Regions from separate parts of the Homo sapiens genome. Here all the other regions are linked to region 1. The links are contacts of gene promoters, found by promoter capture Hi-C in blood cells and fetal thymus (Javierre and others, 2016). All regions are on one chromosome and are shown on one strand. Each heading gives the region's core, a stretch centred on a gene start or on the middle of the fragment in contact. The rest is flanking DNA. Distances are from core to core; before and after follow the strand shown.

The links. The method cuts DNA at HindIII sites, captures the fragments that hold promoters and counts their contacts. A CHiCAGO score of 5 or more calls a contact.
Region 2: a fragment that was not itself captured here is called in contact with the fragment with the promoter of KL in region 1 in 1 of 17 cell types (megakaryocytes); the score reaches 5.4 in megakaryocytes.
Region 3: a contact is called between a fragment that was not itself captured here and the fragment with the promoter of KL in region 1, in 2 of 17 cell types (M2 macrophages and M0 macrophages). The highest score is 6.6, in M2 macrophages.

Annotation. Positions count from the first base shown.
Region 1 is chr13:33,013,379-33,018,189 of GRCh38, forward strand. KL (klotho) reads left to right here and starts at 3,045. Exons shown (of 5, transcript NM_004795.4): 1 at 3,045-3,881. The coding sequence starts at 3,063. It overlaps LOC124903151 (translation initiation factor IF-2-like), which reads right to left and starts at 3,075. Exons shown (of 2, transcript XM_047430819.1): 1 at 2,458-3,075; 2 at 1-257. The coding sequence starts at 3,064. The coding sequence ends at 67. RefSeq lists enhancers at 2,649-3,224, 3,225-3,802, 4,011-4,070 and silencers at 3,081-3,150, 3,841-3,940. The HindIII fragment of the contact is 5,190 bases long and covers 983-4,811 here.
Region 2 is chr13:33,544,336-33,548,771 of GRCh38, forward strand. It overlaps a transcript of STARD13 not described here. Among named protein-coding and RNA genes, the nearest start is that of LINC02344, 210 kb to the left of the region's middle. The HindIII fragment of the contact is 3,825 bases long and covers 251-4,075 here.
Region 3 is chr13:33,721,724-33,726,418 of GRCh38, forward strand. No RefSeq gene overlaps it. Among named protein-coding and RNA genes, the nearest start is that of RFC3, 94 kb to the right of the region's middle. RefSeq lists a silencer at 2,222-2,391. The HindIII fragment of the contact is 499 bases long and covers 1,610-2,108 here.

The DNA of each region.
Region 1 (4,811 bases), core at 1,795-4,294:
ATTTATTTTCATCTTTCTTGATCCTTTCTTCAGTTGGATGTTGTCTTTGAGGGCAGAGGTTGTCCTCTATGTTTTGAAGTCTCCACACAGCTCGTCGTTGCCTTGCCCGTAGTTGTAGCTCAGTGAAATAAAAATATGTCCGTAGAAGGTGATGTCTGTGACTGGTGAGCTGAGAGCTTGTGGGGTTGGTGTTGTATTTGGGTGCATGTGAATCAGTGCATCTCCTGCTCCATTGGTGTTAAAAGGCTCCCATCGTCCTGGGAACACAATAGGAAAGAGAACAGGTGGGAAGGCACTGGATGAAGGAATGTGGAGAATGGAGGAAAAGTTGATCAGATTGTTGACAACTTTCAGTGTTGAAATTGTCACCAAAATCAAAGTCAGTAAATAAATTTACAATGTCCTTTTCTTCAATGCATCAATAACTTCACCTTCCTGTTCAAAGCACAGCAAGTAATTAATCTCTTATTTGCATTTGAAACCCAAGTTTCAGATGTTTGAAGGTGGTTGTAAAAAATAAAAACCAAAATAAAGCCAAAATAAATAAGCAGCAGCACTAGGCCGGGCACAGTGTCTCACACCTGTAATCCCAGCATTTTAGGAGACCGAGGTGGGTGGATCACAGGAGATCAGGAGTTTGAGACCAGCCTGGTCAGCATGGTGAAACCCTGTCTCTACTAAAAATACAAAAATTAGCCAGGTGTGGTGGTGTGCCCTTATAATCCCAGCTACTGGGGGGCTGAGACAGGAGAATTGCTTGAACCTGGGAGGCAGAGGTTGCAGTGAGCAGAGACCATGCCACTGCACTCCAGCCTGGGCGACAGAGTGAGACTCCGTCTCACACTTGTGGAACCCAGAACTTAGTAACCATGAACAGAACCTTAATAAACAGAAAGTTCTGGAAATAAAGTTTAATCATCATGCAATCTTTATCACTGGGTTAAATGAACAATCATCTGGGAACATGTCTTGGAATGCTTAAAGCTTTGAGATGCATGTGCCTATGTGGCAGACAAATTTCAAATGTGAAACGTTTAGTTAACTTGGTCTTGCTTTTTAATCACTGCTTTAAAATTTAAAAAATGCTGCTGGTCAAGTAAAAATAGCAATAGATAAAATCTGCCCTGAGCAAACAGACCATACATCAATAAATGAATACTTAGCTTAAGCGATTTTCCATGAGACCCATGAAGCATTTCTAATTGAAACTTAACAAGCTACAACCCAACAGACACTCCAATCTTCACTTCTAGAAGGGAAATGTGATACTCCATGTAGACGTAGCTTTTTAAATTTAGCTGGAAGACAGCGTGACAGTGAAGTTGTGTGCTGTAATTTTTTAAAATTGCTGAAGTGTCATGGTTTGCTATTTCGTATTTATTGAAAAAATGTAAATGCTATATTTAACAGAATGGCAGTAACTCTGTTTCAATCTGAAGACTTAATCTTACTAATCATGGTAATATATGCTGGCTGGAGTTGGGAATATTTCATAAAATACTGGAATAAATTTGTGCTTATATTTCAGGGGAATTAATAAAAGCACCTTCATCTGCAACATTTAAAATGTTATTGCCTTTAAATTTGTATTAAATAATGCAGGGAAGATAGATCACTGGGGGAGAATGGATGCACCTCTGTGAGGATCTTGGTCATTCAACACACGTGTACGGGTGAGGAAACTAAGGCACGACTTACTGGGTAGGGAGGTAGGGATATTAGCAAGATCCTTCACTTGTCTGGGCTTTCTGTCTTTGAGTCACCTTTGCGCAGTTTTTCACTGGACTTCACAAGCCTCTGAGGCGGCAGGGCAGACAGGACATCCTTATTTTATAGAGGAGGAAACTTAGGCTTACAGAGGTTTCCTGCCCCAAATCACAAAGGTGGAGCCTAGACCTTCTCAGTCTCCACCAACTGTATTTCGGTTAGCCACAATCCTATCTACCCACATCCAAATGGACACTGTGGCTCTGCAACTTCTGTCAAAAGGGCTCTTTGGCAACAGGAAAAACGTCATGGCTCCATTGTATTGTAGAGGATGGGAATGGGTGTTCCGGCTAAATTCTCCCTCCCCTTTCCCTCCACAGCTCAGATGGCAAATGTGCGACCCAGGGACCTCCCGCTCCAGCAGACCTGTGCGCACAACTTTGCACAGATTACCTGCTAAGTCAGAGCCGAAAGGTAACACAGATGCCAAAGGATAATAAAGGTGAATGAGATTTACTCAAAATTGGAAACTTGGTGTTTGGTTTTTCAGGAGAACAATCAACGACTGTGATTTGAAGTTCACCAGGGTATTCTGAGAGATCTAATCAAAGATAGAGTGCTGGTTTGAAATTATTAAAAGGTAACAGTAAAAGGGAGAGCAAAACCCCAGTCCCAACGCAACCCATAAATCTACTTTGTCTTCCTCGAAAGAGGGGCGCGGGTGGGCGCGTCTCCCCGCGAGCATCTCACCTAAGGGGGAATCCCTTTCAGCGCACGGCGAAGTTCCCCCTCGGCTGTCCCACCTGGCAGTCCCTCTAGGATTTCGGCCAGTCCCTAATTGGCTCCAGCAATGTCCAGCCGGAGCTTCTTTGGGCCTCCGAGTGGGAGAAAAGTGAGAGCAGGTGCTTCCCCAGCGGCGCGCTCCGCTAGGGCCCGGCAGGATCCCGCCCCCAAGTCGGGGAAAGTTGGTCGGCGCCTTTTCTCCCCGACGAAGCCGCTCCAGGGCTGCTCTCAGAGGACGCGCGGCAGGCAAAGAGAATGAACCTGAGCGTCCACGAAACGTCCTGCACGGCTCCCGGGAGCTGGGAGAAACAGGTGCCTTTCTCCGACGTCCGCGGGCGACGCCTGCCGCACCTTGCCCGCTGCCGCGCCCCTCCCGGGCACCCCTCGCCCTCGGCGCCCCTGCCCCCGCCCCCAGTGCCAGGGCGGAGGCAGTCCCGGCTCGCAGGTAATTATTGCCAGCGGAGCCCGCCGGGGAGCGGGGGTGGGCGCGCCGGCGGTGGGCGGGCGGGCGCGGCGGGGCGCGGGCATAAAGGGGCGCGGCGCGGGGCCCCGGAGCCTGGCTCCCGCGCAGCATGCCCGCCAGCGCCCCGCCGCGCCGCCCGCGGCCGCCGCCGCCGTCGCTGTCGCTGCTGCTGGTGCTGCTGGGCCTGGGCGGCCGCCGCCTGCGTGCGGAGCCGGGCGACGGCGCGCAGACCTGGGCCCGTTTCTCGCGGCCTCCTGCCCCCGAGGCCGCGGGCCTCTTCCAGGGCACCTTCCCCGACGGCTTCCTCTGGGCCGTGGGCAGCGCCGCCTACCAGACCGAGGGCGGCTGGCAGCAGCACGGCAAGGGTGCGTCCATCTGGGATACGTTCACCCACCACCCCCTGGCACCCCCGGGAGACTCCCGGAACGCCAGTCTGCCGTTGGGCGCCCCGTCGCCGCTGCAGCCCGCCACCGGGGACGTAGCCAGCGACAGCTACAACAACGTCTTCCGCGACACGGAGGCGCTGCGCGAGCTCGGGGTCACTCACTACCGCTTCTCCATCTCGTGGGCGCGAGTGCTCCCCAATGGCAGCGCGGGCGTCCCCAACCGCGAGGGGCTGCGCTACTACCGGCGCCTGCTGGAGCGGCTGCGGGAGCTGGGCGTGCAGCCCGTGGTCACCCTGTACCACTGGGACCTGCCCCAGCGCCTGCAGGACGCCTACGGCGGCTGGGCCAACCGCGCCCTGGCCGACCACTTCAGGGATTACGCGGAGCTCTGCTTCCGCCACTTCGGCGGTCAGGTCAAGTACTGGATCACCATCGACAACCCCTACGTGGTGGCCTGGCACGGCTACGCCACCGGGCGCCTGGCCCCCGGCATCCGGGGCAGCCCGCGGCTCGGGTACCTGGTGGCGCACAACCTCCTCCTGGTGAGTGCGAGGGGCCAGGCGGAGGGCCACGCAGGGGAGACAGAGGGCCTCCACAGGGGCCAGGGGGAAGTGTGGGAACTGAGTCTCCCCCAGACGAGGCTTCACTTGGACACGTGTATGTGGTCACCGGGGGAAACTGAGCAGTTCTGACTTCCCTTGGAAGGCGTGGAATTAGGAGAGAAATCCCTTAGTGGGCACACGAGTGAGTGCCCCTTGGAGTCCATCTGTGGAAAGGAAGCGGTGATAGGTTTCCGCAGTGAGGAAAGAAACTCCTTTCTCTGGGTGTAGAGGAATTCCTAGAGGTGAGGGCGGGGAGGATTTGCTAGGAGTAACTGCAGGAAGAGAATGAGCAGGGTGGATGAAAGAAACACGTTTGTTCTTAAGCCGCACAGATAGCATTACTCTCTGGAGCTGTCACGAGTTCAGTGTTAATCCAATAAGATCTGTCTTGCTTGTGGCACAAGTTCACACTGTTGTGAAAGTGTCAAAACACAACTCCCGGAGAGTCAGATTTAAACTGTGTTTGGAGGTCCCTTCTGCGGCAGGGCAGGGAACTGCATCCACCAATCTTATTCACCGGGGTGTGAAGACCGCTTTATACAATCTCAAACAAAGCTAGTCATAGAAACACAGAAACAACTGCAGGGTGATATAGATTGTTCTACCACATCTATATTTCCACAGTGCTCTCTACAGTTGAAAGGGTTCCTCACTTATGACATTGTTAGCCTGATAAAATTAATTGTAACACCCTTGTGCAAAATATTTTATTAATTTTGACAGCAGGAAATATTGCTATGCCATGGTAAAGTTGTCTCAAGTATTTCTTCCTCCTTTTTTCTCCTTAGTGTTCAAATTTAGGCACCATTGTTTTGGGGATTCATTTATAATCATGTCAGTTGTTAGTACACTTTGTACAGAGTTTTGTAT
Region 2 (4,436 bases), core at 913-3,412, 530 kb after region 1:
TCTTTTCAGCAGGACTTTTCTCAATTCTGTCAAATTCTGACTGTGCCACTGCCTTTATTGACACAGTAATTAAATCACGCAGTGATTAAAGTGTGCTGCACACTGTAACTTTTGTGCTTGCTACAAATAGAAATACAGATATTGTTAGATAAGTTTATGTTTATGATAATCAGTTCCTAAAATGTAGAAAGCAGTCGGTTTTCTGGTCTCAGTTTTATTTAAATCACTGCTATTTTGTTTACTGGATGTAAGCTTCCCCCTCTCTGCTCTAGCCTGAATGGGCCTTCGTGAAAAGAAGAAAAAAAAGATTGAGAACAACTGTCTTAAAACCATGGTATTTCCCTAATAGGCTAGTACCATGTATTTGGATAATTACTGATGAATCATTTAAATCAGGGAAAGGTGCATGGTTTTGTTTTTTTGTTGTTTTTTCTCTTTTTTTTTTTTTTTTTTTTTGAGATGGAGGCTTGCTCTGTCGCCCAGGCTGGAGTGCAGTGGCCAGATTTCAGCTCACTGCAATCTCTGCCTCCCGGGTTCAAGCGATTCTCCTGCCTCAACCTCCTGAGTAGCTGGGACTACAGGCGTGTGCCACCACACCTGGCTAATTTTTTTGTTTTATTTATTTATTTATTTATTTGAGACGGGGTTTTGCTCTTGTTGCCCAGGCTGGGGTGCAATGGTGCGATCTCAGCTCATCACAACCTCTGCTCCCAGGTTCAAGTGAGTCTTCTGCCTCAGCCTTCCTGAGTAGCTGGGATTACAGGCATGTGCCACCATGCCTGGCTAAAATTTTGTATTTTCCTTAGTAGAGATCAGTTTTCTCCATGTTGGTCAGGCTGGTCTCGAATTCCTGACCTCAGGTGATCCACCCGCCTTGGCCTCTCAAAGTGCTGGGATTACAGGTGTGAGCCACCGCGCCTGGCCTAATTTTTTGTATTTTTAGTAGAGACGGGGTTTCACCGTGTTAGCCAGGATGATCTCGATCTCCTGACCTCGTGATCCGCCTGCCTCGGCTTCCCAAAGTGCTGGGATTACAGGCGTGAGCCACTGTGCCTGGCCCGAAAGGTGAATGTTCTTTGCCTTATTTTAAACTTTATTGTAATAAATTCACTAATGAAGCAGGCAGAGAAGATGTAAAGGACACTTCATTAGTAATGCTATATTTCATATACCTGCTGTATTTTGGGAGCATTATTGCTATCATTTGGTTTGTTGGATCCCTCCAAATCTCACGTTGAAATTTGATCCCCAGTGTTGGAGGTGGGGCTTAATGGGAGATGTTTTCAGACATGGGGGTGGATCCCTGACACAGGGCTTGATGCCCTCCTAGTGATAATGAGTGAGTTTTCTATTAGTTGCTGTCAGAGCTGGTTGTTAAGAGCCTGGCACCTCCCTCCTATCGATTTTCTTGCTGCTTTGTCTTGCTTCCTCGCTTACCATGTGATCTCTGCACATGCTGGTTCTCCTTCACCTTCACCCACAAGTGGAAACAGCCTGAGGCCCTCACCAGAAATAGCTGCTGGTACCATGCTTCTTGTACAGCCTACAGAACTGTGAGCCAAGTAAACCTCTTTTCTTCATAAATTACCCAGCCTCAGGTATTCCTTTATAGAAAAATAAATGGACTAAGACAGTTGTTAAATAACCTTATTTTGTTGACTAAAAGTAATTAGTATTTTATGACATTTATTTATTATGGCTGTTAACATTACAATTTATCCTGGCTAATTTCATCAGTAAACACTCTTATGAAATGATACTGTAGTTTACTTTCAACCAAGAATTGGTTGACTTTGATACAGTAATTAGATTAGGATTCCCACGTCAGATTTTCTTTCAAAAATAATTCCTATTATTATGTGGAAGCCTCCTTTTCTGATTTTTTTCTCTTATTTTCTAAGAACATAATATGTAAATGGATGTATAATGAATATTTGTGGCAAAAAGCATTTGTCTAAGAAGAATTAAGTTGATTCAGCTGTTAAAGGGGTCTTAGTTGTTAGAGCTTTTTGGCGGTTTATTTGCTATAATCAATAGACTTATTAATACTTTTAATTTTAGCCTAATAGTACTAATAGTCACATTTTGACTAACTATTGGGCCAGTTTTTCTTTGTCATTCATTGGTAGTTGAGTCTCTGTAGCCTTTATACTGCCCTATTTTTGGTTTGCCACATTTTAAATCTCAAACTGCCTATAATTTATACTGTTAGTCTTTGGAAATAAGTTTGAATTGACTATTCTGCTAAACTCATTTTAATGACCATGCTCCCTTGTGATGAGCTAAATTTATTTATTATTGTGTTGTCGTATTAATTTTTTTTTTTTTGAGACAGTCTCACTCTGTCGCCCAGGCTGCAGTGCGGTGGCTCAGTCTCCACTTACTGCAACCTCCACCTCCCGGGCTCAAGTGATTCTCCTGCCTCAGCTTCCTGAGTAGCTGGGATTACAGGCAAGATTAATGTTTTTTATTTGTAATCAATTTAAGCCTAATACATGTTCTAATAATTTTTGTATTTCATATATGGATAAATTATAATAATTCTTTTAAAGTGAAAGTATTGATGAGAGATACTTTTTTTTGGAATAGCTCATTTTAAGCCCCTGATACTTGATATGGATAAAATATTTTCAGTGTTTAATAAAATGTTGAAATATATTTAACTTTACTAATTTGAGCCCTGCCAATTATAATACTTTAGAAAAAGTGAAAATATAATAGTACATTTATAAGGCTTTTAAGTATTCACAAAATAGTCATTTCCCAGTAGATGTTTTTCAGCTCTTATGATACAGTGTTTTCTTTTTCTTTTGGCCATGTATTGATCAGAATTAGTCATTAACTTTACTAACAACTGGATTTAGTTTGTCAGCCTTGATGGTTTGGTTACACAGATGTAGCTATTGTGTCAACCCCACTGTTTTAAATATGTTCCTATGCCAGGTGAAATTTGATCCCTTTAAGCAAATTTCTGTTAAACACTTTGTGTCAGTTTCAGTAACGTTTCCCCAATGAACATTCCTACTGTACAAAATTTTACATATGTGTATTTACATATTTATACTTTTTTCACAAATGTGGGAATTTAGGATACTATGTTTGTAAAAATTGGGCAATTTTTCTTGAAGATAATTTTTAAAATTACAGCAAAACATAGGGCCCTGAGAAGAAGAGGTAAAATATATGGAAGAGCAAGTATGTATAGATAATTTTGTAACGTAACCTTGAGAGAAATATAGAAAACTGAGACAACATAAGCCAAAGGAAAGGAATTGGGATGTAAAACCTTTAGGGTAGAGCAGTGCTCTGCTGTGGTCATTTATGCCTTGGCATTAAGTTCTTTTGAATATAAAACAATGCATTTAGAAGGATTTTAAGACTATATCACAGTGCACTGGCATTTTCTTCTTCAATTTTCCAGGGCTAAATAAGGTAATTGAATAATAAAACTTAAAAGCATTTTTCATTTCATGAAGATCCAAGAAAAAATATTTCATAACAATTTTTATTTACAAGAAGGAAAAACATATTCATAAGAATCTTAGATGATTAGTAGGTTAATGAAATAAAAAGTTTGTTAGGAAGAAGGAATACTAGTTATTGAACAATGCCAATTTTTTCTATTTAAAAATATTTAAAATGCCATTAGTTGATTTATTTAATGAGCCATCAGCCTTTATTTTAGATTCACTATAACTCTGATCTCCTAAACCTGCTTTTCCTATCAGGTCTTAAATATTTCATCCCTGCTTTCTTTTACAATATAGTTTTTGGGAATGTAACTATCATGTTGATAAGTAATGCTAGGTGAAGGAAAAAGTTAAAACAACTCCAATGCTAGGCAGTGATATACCATAGAAAAATAAATGAGCCAAAGATAGGGGAAGTGATTTTTTTTGGAGGAAGAAAACAGAAATGAGAACAAGAGGACATGGATGACTGCTGAAAAACTGACCAAGTTCCTCTTCAGTCTTCTAACAGAATTTGGAAGATGTTCTTAGCATGCAACTGTTGGTTGAAAAAAACCCAAATGTACAAGGGCCATCAGTTCTTAAAAGTGGAATAGTGCATAGAAAGCTTATTGACACAACATAGCAGTTTGATGAAATGGACTGAAGCCATTTCTGTGGAGTGGACTCGTGGAAAATGTGATGCCTGATTCATAAAATTGTACACAGTTGAATGTTGCTATATAGGTAAGGTTTTGCAAACTCAGGACTCTCAGGAAACATCAAAGGTATATAGTTGGCACACTTAATTTTAGATATGTGTGATACGTTTGTGATTTTTTTTAAAAAAATATTTCCAGGAATGCTTAAGAAGATTATACCACCTCATGCTATAAAATAAAACTAACTTGGAGAATTCAACAATGTTTGCTGTTTTAATATGCATCTTACAAAGATAATTATAAACACTGAGAGTATTTACTGCAA
Region 3 (4,695 bases), core at 609-3,108, 710 kb after region 1:
GCATTTTTCCCCCTTGGCTTTCTTTTGGAGAGGACATTACAAATGATAGTGATTCGATGACAGACATTCTTTTTCCCCAAGTGGTTCAGAGCATTCCAAAGGACACAAGGCTATTTTTATTCAGTGGAGCTTGGGACTCTTGGTAGGAAAAGATCTGCAGTGCTGCTGTCCTTCTGATAAAAGGAACAAACATGTTCTTGAACAATCTTGAAAGGATGACACAGCTCATGGAAAATCCAGGAAATGCAGATGTTATTACTGTATGAGAATCACAAGACATGATCTCAGAGATAATTTAGTACAGCATGATTGAGCAGCAGAGGAATATGGAAATTTGTAACTGATAAATGGTGGTAGCTGGGCCAGATTTTGAGAGGTGGTTTGAAAGCTTTAACAGACAGATTACTTAAAGTCATTTAATGGATTTCAGCTCCAACACTGACTTATTTTAATAAACGAAATGCTAATTTGGGCCTCATGCATTCTTTTATATATTCAATTCATGAGGTTGGAAACATTGATCTTTATATTCCTGAGAAACAATTTAATTAGACCTGTAAATGGCTCTTAAAGTACAAATAATGAGAACCAACTATTTGGAAGTGACTTCAAGACTGGCTTGCAAAGAGTGTATAAGTTTCTATTTGATGGTGTAATTACCCATTTGCAAGAGTCACATACACAGGCCAAATCTCCTAATTGATTTACTTAGTAACATGTAACATTGAGGTCACATTACATTAGCAAGGGGAAATGGAAGGCAGAATTATTTACCTTGATACTATAAACGAGAATAAACAAATGATACTTCAATTATCTGATTCTTTCAAATGAGACATTTGAGGTATAAGAATCTGAATTGCATTGTTACTGAATTTCACATTGATACTAGACAGTCTCAGAGTCAGAAAGCCAACGTTTTACATAGAGACTTTAGAGACATTTTTGTCTGTGTAAGTAACTTTTATACAGCTCAATTTGCCAGTATGTGACTTATCTATTTATACATGGGCCAAGTACTTGACTAGTTTTTTAACTTTCCAGTTTTATAAAAATGAAAGTGAAAGAGTCCAAATACTATTTTCATAACTGTCAACTAATTCATAGTTACAGTAACCAGAAAATAGAATAGCGTGTAGGCATTGGACTGAACACAAGGACTTTATTGGATTTTCTTTACTATAATAATATTCCTGGACTTCCCAATTTCATGTGCTTGAAAAATTTAGAAAACATCTTGCTGTAAATCCATACTGCAGATTACTCAAAGGCTTGGGAATATGATTCAAGAGGAAATTCTTTAGATCTGGGATAATTCACTTCTATTTTTCAAGGGCTTTTGTTTTAAGGATACCTGGAAAATCATAAAATCAGATGGGATTTAAGAGTTATTTAATCTAGTGGTACCTATGCACCAGTCATTAGATCTGTGCTGGGCTGCCTGCCTACACATTTTTAGCTAATTTCCATGTCTTCAGACAAGAAAAATGTTTTCCAAGGAAAACAGTTCTTTTGGATTTTTTTTTAAGTGCAATTTCTGGGCCCTGCCCTAGATTTTCTGACTGAGCAAATTTATAGGCAAGGCCCTGGAATCTGTATTTTTTTAAAAAGCTTCCCCGGTGATTTTGAGATCCAGCCATTTGTGGAAACCCACTGATGTTAGTCCAATCTCTTTGTTTTCCAGATGCAAAATCTGAGGCCCACCTTGTCCCAGCTAAGCAAGTGAGGGAGAGGAATCCAGAGCCCTGACTTGTAATTCATTTTTTTTTTGTGTGCTTCTCATTCACTAGGCACATCTGCTGATCAAATCCTTCCCATACCCTCTGGATTCAGAACAAGAGGAAGTGCACATATGTCCACAACAATTTCCCAACACTAGGGAGTATTGATTTGCTGGGGGAGCAAGTGGCATCTCCCTCCCTGGAAAATTTTAAAACCAAAAGAAAAAGTTTAACTGGCTGATAATTTATAAATGAAATCCTCTCTGAAGATAGGAAGATGGGCTAGATAATGTTTTATCTCTTCTAGCCCTAACTTTCCATGCTCCTATAATTTAGTAACAAAAGGAACCCATGCACTTTCTTTTTTTTTAAGACAGTTTCTCCAGAAGCTTCCATGTGTGGAGAAACTTACTCTCTTCCTCCTTCTTCTATTTATCTTTTCTTATCTGAAAGGAGGACTACACTGTAAACATCTACATATGCAAAACCCATGCCTTTGGTACACACCTACCACTTTCAGATCAAACCGACAGCCTAAGTGGCCAGGCTGGCAGCTGGTTTAGGATAAATACAACAGCACCACCTTGTGTTGCGTTTCTGGGAGAATTTACCACTTCAGCAGGACAAAGACTTGGGCCGGGATGGGTGGCTCAGGATACAGCAACTATTCCTTTACTTTCCCTGCTGGGAGCAAATGCTAGCCATTTCGAAAAACCTTTTTGTTTGTTATCAGCCTACAATTTTCTTCTATAAATTCTGTAATTTTTAAAATATAAAAGGTAGCTGAGAAATGGAAATGCAGAAATAAACATATATTAATAAAAGCCTGGGTAAGCACAGTGCTATAGTAAATATTGTAGAGAAAAAGTTAATGTCAGCTTTTATTGCAAAAGACTTGATAGTAAATGTACATTTAATGCTATTGTGATTTAACACTTTCTCTAAAGATTCTCCCATATTTGGGGAGGTAGCTTTTAAACTATGTATTTGCCTATTAAGGGAAGAAAAGAATGTTTCACTTTCTCATAACCATTCTGGGTGAGCCTGGATAAAGTCTTTGTTTTCCCCAAGTATAGTTGTAGATTCACATATATAAATATATATAGATATATATGAATATATATATAATATTCATATTATACCTTGTATTCCCCAAGCATGGTTGTAGATTCATATACTATATGTGTACATATATAATATACATATGCACATATATATTTGCATCTTTGCTGTGGAGCAAGCTAAAAATTTAATATGTGAATATCAACATGGGACTGAAAGACCATAAAGACCAGAAAATCGACATATTTGCTAAACAAATATGTCAAATGTCTGATATTTTCAACAGAAAGAACATGACTAATTAAGGAAGATTATTTCCAGTTGTAATTTGAAATGTCAAGATTAGTGTAACAAATCAGCAATTCTTTGTCTCTGAAATCATCTGGAAAATTGAGCTAAGGCCTTACAAGCTACACATTATTATGGGAAGAGAAGTTACAGGATTAGAAAGTAGCAAACCAGGCATTCGGGGCCTTGCTGGGGCTGGCCATGCAGAAAAACTTACCCAGAAAATCCTGCAGAAAGCTCAGTAATGTTACTTTTAGTTGTAAAAGAGGATTTGGTCTTCAAAGTTTATTTGCCATTGTTCACCCAGTCTTTAGCACGTATATTTACTGTGCTGAGCTAATAACTTTGAATTAGACTTTACAAATAAGAAGGAAAAATTATGTCTTAGTTCCTCATGTGCTTTCTTGTGGAAGGCCAGACAAGTAGCACATTTGATTAGGCAATATTTCTAAGTTTTGGATAATTTTTCTGATATTGTATTCTCCAATTAAATTGTAATCTAATTTATAAAAATACTAAATATATAGTTATGAAGGGTGCACTACAATTTTAAAGAATGTGGAATGTTCAGGTGTGAATCATGAACTTGGAGGGCTTCTAGTAAATACCAGTTGGCAAATACAATGTCATATCAATATGAAGAAAATGCTCTTCTTTTCTTCAAACAAACGCAATCTCAAAAACTCCCAAGGGCTATTCCATTTGTGTACTTATCAGTCACTTGACTGCTTTCCTAATCACTGTTTTCTAGTCCCAGTTCTGTGCACAAAGGAAAGTTCCACCCCGTTCCCCAACCCTGCACTCAGGATCACTCCCCATCAAATGGTGCCTACCTGGAGCAGAATGTTGATTTCACACTTGCTCCAAATGTTCTTCTTCCTTCCATTAGACTTTCACTTAAAATTTATTTTTTGGTAGAATTTGAGTTCCAGGGAGAGTATGGACTTAATTTCTAGTGGCTCTTAATTCTGTACTGCCACCCAGATGGCTTCCAGCTACATGGCTTTTTTGTCACAGGACAAAGCAATGACTGTGGATAATGAAAAAATAATAATTTTCTAGAATGGTGGAATAATTTTAGACACTATTAGTGTTTATTAATTGGGTTGTGTATTAGTCTGCTTGGGCTGCCACAGCAAAATACCCCAGACTGGGAGGCTTAAAGAACAAAAGTTTAGGCCGGGCAAGGTGGCTCACACCTGTAATCCCAGTAATTTGGGAGGTCAAGGCAGGTGGATCACCTGAGGTCAGGAGTTCGAGACCAGCCTGGCCGACATGGTGAAACCCTGTGTCTACTAATAATACAAAAAAATTAGCCAGGCGTGGTGGCTTACACCTGTAATCCCAGCTACTTGGGAGGCTGAGGCAGGAGAATCGCTTAAACTCGGGAGGTGGAGATTGCAGTGAACCAAGGTCGCGCCATTGCACTTCAGCCTGGTGACAGAGTGAGACCCTGTCTCTAAAAAAAAAAGAAAGAAAGAAAGAAAGAAAGAAAGAAAGAAAGAAAGAAAAGAACAGGACAGAAGTTTATTTTCTACAGGTTCTGGAGGATAGAAATCCAACATCCAGGTGCCAGTAGGGTTGGTTTCTGGTTGCAAATGGTCACCATCTTGCTATGTCCTTA